Regions from separate parts of the Homo sapiens genome. Here region 2 is linked to region 1. Evidence: promoter capture Hi-C in human tissues and cell types (Jung and others, 2019). All regions are on one chromosome and are shown on one strand. Each heading gives the region's core, a stretch centred on a gene start or on the middle of the fragment in contact. The rest is flanking DNA. Distances are from core to core; before and after follow the strand shown.

The links. The method cuts DNA at HindIII sites, captures the fragments that hold promoters and counts their contacts. A contact is called where the count stands out against the background at its distance.
Region 2: a contact is called between a fragment that was not itself captured here and the fragment with the promoter of ZNF792 in region 1, in 1 of the 25 tissues and cell types used here (liver).

The regions. Positions count from the first base shown.
Region 1 is chr19:34,962,258-34,965,841 of GRCh38, reverse strand. ZNF792 (zinc finger protein 792) reads left to right here and starts at 1,613. Exons shown (of 4, transcript NM_175872.5): 1 at 1,613-2,212. The coding sequence starts at 2,180. LOC124904699 (a long non-coding RNA gene) reads right to left here and starts at 2,416. Exons shown (of 2, transcript XR_007067236.1): 1 at 2,169-2,416. RefSeq lists silencers at 1,852-2,111, 2,222-2,271. The HindIII fragment of the contact is 10,198 bases long and covers 1-3,584 here.
Region 2 is chr19:34,668,533-34,672,116 of GRCh38, reverse strand. The region is part of intron 1 of SCGB2B2 (secretoglobin family 2B member 2); the gene reads left to right. It also overlaps the pseudogene ZNF807P and the pseudogene SCGB1B2P. Among named protein-coding and RNA genes, the nearest start is that of SCGB2B2, 6.8 kb to the left of the region's middle. The HindIII fragment of the contact is 6,284 bases long and covers 1-3,584 here.

The DNA.
Region 1 (3,584 bases), core at 364-2,863:
TCACAAGGCAGAAGGTCAGGGCGAGATCACAAGGTCAGGGCAAAACTAGAATCACTCATGAGCTTCCATGTCCTGCTGTGCACGCATTGTCATTTATAAACATCTTAACAGGGTTCAAGAGCAGAGAACTGGTCTGACTAGAGTTCGCCAGGCTGGAATTTCCTAATCCTAGCAAGCCTGGGGGCGCTGCAGGAGACTAGGGTGTGTTTCATCCCTATCTACATGTGCATAAGGCAGACACTCCCAGGGCAGCCATTTTAGAGGCACTGCCCTGGGAATGCATTATTTTCCCAGGGCTGTTAATTATTAATATTCCTTACTGGGGAAAGAATTCAGCGATATTTCTCTTACCCGTTTTTGGTAATAGGAGAAATATGGCTCTGTCCTGCCCGTCCCACAGGCAGCCAGACTTTAAGGTTATCTCCCTTGTTCCCTGAAAATCGCTGTTATCCTGTTCTTAAGGTGCCCAGATTTCATATTGTTCAAACACACATGCCCTACAAACAATCTGTGCAGTTAACGCAATCATCACAGGGTCCTGAGATGACATACATCCTCAGCTTACGAAGATGACAGGATTAAGAGATTAAAGTAAAGTCAGGCATAGGAAATCACAAGAGTATTGATTGGGGAAGCGATACATGTCCATGAAATCTTCACAATTTATGTTCAGAGATTGCAGTAAAGACAGGCATAAGAAATTATAAAAGTATTAATTTGGGGAACTAATAAATGTCCATGAAATCTTCACAATTAATGTTCTTCTGTCACGGCTTCAGCAGGTCCCTCCGTTCGGGGTCCCTGACTTCCTGCAACAATGTAGTGTTATTTTTCCCATTTTATTTACTGGATTTCAATGAGAGTCCCTGCTGTAAAGTTGGAGCCAGCATTGGAGTCCCCAGAGGGCTTGTTAAAACAGAGAAGGAGGCCTGGCACCATGGCTCACTCCTGCAATTCCCAACACTTTGGGAGGCCGAGGTGAGAGGATCACTTGAGCTCAGGAGTTTGAGACCAGCCTAGGCATCACAGGGAGATCCAGTCTCTACAAAAAATTTTAAAATTAGCTGTGTATGATGGTGCACGCCTGTATCCCATCTACCTGGTAGGCTGAGGCAGGAGGATAGCTTGAGCCCGAGATGGAGGCTGCAGTGAGCTATGATCAGGCCACTGCACTCCAGCCTGGACAACAGAACGAGACCCATCCCCCCCGCCCCCCCCGCAAAAAGTAGAGAAGGCTGAATCCCATCCCCAGAATTTCTGAGTCCTTAGATTTAAGTTGTTGCCCCAGAACCTGCATTTTCAGCCAGTCCCCAGGTGATGCTGATGTTGCTGGTTTGAGAAGCCCTGAATCAGAGCGACATTTAATATTACAACGCAAAGACCCCGCCCATTGGGTACTATCCCCATTTTCCAGTGTGAATTTAGGTCCCTTAGGGGTGAAGCGGCTGGCCGATGCCCACACGCGCAGGAAGAGCACTGGGGCTCTCCTCCTGGACCTCGGAGGGTGGGCGGGGTTTAGCGCGGGCGGCTGCAGGCTCGGGAGCGGCCCCTTTAAGGGGAAGGCCCGAGGGCTGCAGGCGGCGGCGGTGGAGACCCGACGAGATCCGCTCTCCTTCCCGCCCTGGACCCTCAGCCTGACGAGAGGCTGGGCAGAAACTCGCGATCCCCAGGCCCTGCCTGTGCACCAGCGGCTGGCGCCAGGCCAATGACAGTACGGGAGAGGGCAACTCTCCCGGCCGCCACGGTGGGGGCCGGAACTTCCTGCACTGCAGCCTCGCAGGTCATTTCCCGGCGGGGAGGCTGAGTCCCCAGGAGCTGGGGACCCCGAGTTGGGGGCGGGGCGGCTGGGGCTACGCCCGTGAAGCTGCCCCGCCGGCTTTCCCGGACCGCGAGGGGGACAGTGAGGCCGGGACCCCCTCCGCGCCTTTGCACCAGCCGTGACCCCTTGCAACGGGGGTACCCAGCGGAGCTGCGCGCTCTCGGCGCCCCCGGAGCCTGCGCCCCGGGCCCCTTGCGCATTTTGCACGGGGGAGACTGAGGCTAGGAGTGCGACCCTCAGCCCGGGGTCACACCTCGTCTGGGGCACGGCCAGGTGGGTGGTAGCCTCAGCCTGCGAGACCCCCTACCCCCGCCCCGTGGTTTCCCGCACCGTGGGGCCCTGCTCTGACCACAGACTCCGATGGCAGCGGCGGCGCTGCGGGACCCCGCGCAGGTGAGTGCTTGGACGTTAGGCCCTTCGCTGTCGGCCCCCCACGCTTCTGTTCTCGGTGTTGAGACGCAAAAGATGGCTTTGTTCTAGGACTTTTCGCCTTTCCCATTTCCTTGCTTTTGAGTCAGGGGACCCTGGAAGGGAGTTGCTCCCAGCTAGGATCCTGAATCAGGGCAGGGTTTATATAAAGTGGCTTCCGTTGCTGAAATGTAATGGGATGGAGGGAGAAAGGGCTTTGTAGGCACAGGAACCAGCGTGCGCAAAAGCTTGGGGGTGGGGTGGGGCACGGTGTGGAGACTGAGTTGGGAGTGTTCAAGGAACCCCACCCAGGTCAGTGTTATTAATATTATGTCTGCTGGAACCAGAGAGCAGGTGGGCTGAAGACAGCTCAGAACGGCAGAGCTGGGCCTCTGTTCTGAGGGTGTTGGGAGCCATGGAAGGTTTAGGGCAGAGGAGGAAGATGCTGTGACTCAGGTCTTAACAGGCTCCCTGTGGATGCACAGTGGAGAACTGAATATGGAGTGAGCCGCAAGCAGGGATGCCAAGGAGTAGCCTAATGGAATAGCCCAGGCCAGTGCTGCGGCTGGCCGGACCAGAGTGAGGACTGGAGGTAGAGGAAGTGATTGGGAACTTGATGTCTTTTAAGTCAAGCTGACCAAATTTTCCGATGTGGAGGGTGAGAAAGAGGAGGGAAGAATCCATGGTTTTTGGTTTGATGAATCCAGCTTTATGAACTGAGAAGTTGGTTTTAGGAGGAATTTTCCATGGAAGCAGTAGAAGTTAGGTTTTGGCCAAGTTGAGCCTGTGATGTCCCAGAGACCCCCAAATGGAGTTGAAGAGTGGGCCGCTGAACACACAGTTCGGGTGTTCTGAGGGAGTTGTTAAGGTAATGAGAGACTGGATATTCATTCGAACAATGGCCAGATCATGTATACAAATAGAACTCTGCCCCAGAACCTGCCCAGGAAACCAACCCCCTTATCTACAATAAACAACCCATACAGCAGGAAGCCAGCCTGCTGTCTGTCAGACCCACAGGAAGCCAGATTGCTATCTGGACTGACAATCCAGGAAGTAAAAACAATAACTTCTGTAATGAGCAGTCCCAAATGGCCAGGGTTTGATTAATAACAGACAGCTTTCCTCATTTTTGCTCCTGCTTCTGATTTAAGAACAACCAGAGAAAGGCAGATACGCACCCTAACCAATCACATAGGATGCCCACTTCTAGTTCACCCACCTACGAACAGGAGCCTCCAACCAGGGCACGCCTGAAGCCTTCCTTTTCTTTTGCTATAAAACTCTCCCACTCCCGGCTTGCATTGAGTCTCTCTTGCTATAGTGAGCTTTGAGTAAGTAGCCTTGGCTTTTCTCA
Region 2 (3,584 bases), core at 490-2,989, 290 kb after region 1:
CCACCTGGAGTGCATTGGCCCCATCATGGCTCACTGAAGTCTTGAACTCCTGGGCTCAAGCAGTTCACTCGCTTCAGCCTCCAAGGTAGTTTGGAATATGGGAGTGCACCACCACAACCAGCTTTTACAGATTCTAAAACAGTAATAAGGAATTTTATGAATAATCTTCCAATACATTTCACAGTTGCCAGTTTGAAAATAAACACATAAAATTGAACAAATAAGTTAGACAACATAAATATTAATGGAGAAAATCCCATAGAATCTGTGAAAAAAATCTGGAATAAATGAATTTATAAAATTTACAGGGTAAATAATAATTTTTTAAAAAAATTATACTTCTGTATACAATGATCAATTTGAAACTGAAATTTAAAAGCACTTTTTACAAGAGCATACAACATATACTTGAGACACATAAGATGTGCAAGATATGTACATTGAAAACTACAAAAGATTGCTGAGGAAAATTAAAGATCTAAATAAAAGGAGAGATACACAATGTTTATGGATTAGAACACTCAATATTGTTAATGTGCTAATTCTTCTCAAATTGATAAACATATATTCAATGCAATCCAATCAAAATCCCACGATGCTTTTATTAGAAAATAACAAGTGAATTCTAAAATTGATATGAAAATACAAAGCACTTAGAATAGCAAAAAAAAAAGAAAAAGATGCATAAAGTTAAACGATTACATTGCCTGATTTAAAGACATATTATAAAGTTAATTAAGACTTTAAAATGTTAGCAAAAATATAGATTAAGAAAGTCCAGAAATAGACCAACACTTAGAAGATCAAATGATGTTTTAGAAAGGTGCAAAGGCAATTCACTGAAGATCGTGTTTTCAACAAGTGTTGTTGGAACAACTGGACATCCATATTAAAACAAAAACCAGGCCAGCTGCAGTAGCTCAGCCCTTAATCCCAGCACTTTGGGAGGCCAAGGTGGGTGTATCATGAGGTCAGGAGTTCAAGACCAGCCTGGCCAAAATGTTAAAACCCCATCTCTACTAAAAATACAAAACTTAGCCAGGGGTGGTGCCTGTAATCCCAGCTACTTGGGAGGCTGAGGCAGAGAACTGCTTGAACCCGGGAGGCGGAGGTTGAAGTGAGCCAAGATTGCACCACTGCACTCCAGCCTGGGTGACAGAGAAAGACTCCATCTCAAAACAAACAAACCAGCCACAAAGTTCTGATCCCAAACCTCACACGGTATACAATATTCAAGAACTAACTCAGCATGGATTATAAACCTGAATATATGAAACCTTCATTAAGTAACATGAGAGAATTTTTAAAATCTTGGCAAATACTTCTGAAATATACACCAAAAACATGTTCAATCAAAGAAAAAAATAACACATTCAACTTTGTCAACAGTAAACATTTCTGCTATGCGACATGCTCTTTTAAGATGAAGGAAGAAAAGAGCCATAGGCTAGAAGACTATACTGGCAAACCACATATCTGAAGAAGGACTTGTATTCATTATTTATTAAGAACTCTCAAAACTCAATAATAAAGAAAAAAGTTTAAATGGGCAAAAGATTTGAATAGACACCTAACCAAAGAAGATAGAGGGATGGCAGTAGTACACATAAAAATTGTAAACATTAGTTATTAGGGAGATACAAAGTAAAATCGCAGAGAAATACCACTGCACACCAAACGGGAATAGTGAAAATTAAAGACTGACCATACCAAGTGTTGGTGAGGATATGGAGTACCTGAAATCCTCATAACACTGTGGTAAGAATGTAGTAGTATAACCACTTTGGAACACAGTTAGTCAGTTTGTGAAAAGGTAAACATCCACTTACTCTGCGACTTGGTGTAATTATGCTTTTTATTTTCTGTATTTTATGATGACATCTTTTAAAGTTTGCTGGCTCTGGAGACTGTCCTCCCAGGATTAGTCTTTTCTTAGAGATGGCAAAACGCTCGACCTGGAGCACCTGTCTCATATACAACCAACTGGCACTGAATCTATAGCCCCGATTACCTCTTTATCCAACTCTCACACCCCACGCCAATATCTCCCCTGCACTGAAGCACCCCATGACCAGGTACCAGGTAACCAGAGACCAACACTATAGGCCAAAGCCTGCCGGGATTATTCAAACTAGCTAATCATAAGCTGTTTACTCTGCCCTGCCTGGCTTTTCCCATGGGAACCCCAATAAAGGCTGTGGCCTATGGGTTCCCCTTGCTCCTGCCTCCTGACCAGCACTGGTGCTCTCCATGTGGCCCTGTGTGGCATGGTGTGCCCCGGGAAATGTAAATAATAATGTTTTCCATCGCATTGGCCTCTCTGTGTGGTCACTCAGTCACTGCCATAAATTAGAATCCCACAGGTGGAAATGAGACACACCTCTTCGTGTGTGTGTGTGTGTAAGTGGGGGCAGGGCAGGTCTGCAGAGAGACCCACGGCCCTGGGCCATGCCTTTGGGGTGACAGTGTATCAGGAACTAAGCTCAGCATGCAGTGGGATGGGTTGGGTGTTGCTGTGACATCCTGTGTCCTCCCTGGAGCACCGTGGGATTGGGAGCAGGCTGAGCACTATGGTGCCAGCCTGCAGGTCCATGTGTGCATGTGCACCCAGGAGGCCCTGAGGCATAACGGTGTGTCTTGGCAAACATGTGTCTGCACTTGGCACGCCCTAGCACAGAATCTGCCACCGAGTGCCGGTTCAACAAACATTTGATAAATGAGTTTGTTTGTCTGAATGGGTAGCAGATTAGGTGCAGCTTTCGTGAAAATTAGTAAATTGTAATTTAGATTCAAGGAACATTACCTGGAATAAAACACAGAACCTAAAGGAAGTGAGATATAGAAAGTGCATTAGGAACACATGTTACACAGTGAAGAGATGCTACTGTGTCTGGAATTGGTGGGTTCTTGGTCTCACTGACTTCAAGAATGAAGTCGCGGACCCTCGCAGTGAGTGTTACAGTTCTTAAGGCGGCGCGTCTGGAGTTGTTAGTTCCTCCTGGTGGGTTCGTGGTCTCGCTGGCTTCAGGAGTGAAGCTGCAGACTTTCATGGTGAGTGTTACAGCTCATAAAGGCAGTGTGGACCCAAAGAGTGAGCAGTAGCAAGATTTATTGTAAAGAGCAAAAGAACAAAGCTTCCACAGTGTGGAAGGGGACCCCAGCTGGTTGCCACTGCTGGCTGGGGCAGCCTGCTTTTACTCTCTTATCTGGCCCCACCCACATCCTGGTGATTGGTCCATTTTACAGAGAGCCGAGCCGTCTGTTTCCACAGGGTGCTGATTGGTGCGTTTACAATCCCTGAGCTAGACACAAAGGTTCTCCACGTCCCCACTAGATTAGCTAGATACAGAGTGTGGACACAAAGGTTCTCCAAGTCCCCACCAGAGTAGCTAGATACAGAGTGTCGATTGGTGCATTCACAAACCCTGAGCTAGACACAGGGTGCTGACTGGTGTATTTACAATCCGTTAGCTAGACATAAAGGTTCTCCAAGTCCCCACCAGACTCAGGAGCCCAGGTGGCTTCACCCAGTGGATCCCGCACCGGGGCCACAGGTGGAGCTGCCTGCCAGTCCCGCGCCGTGC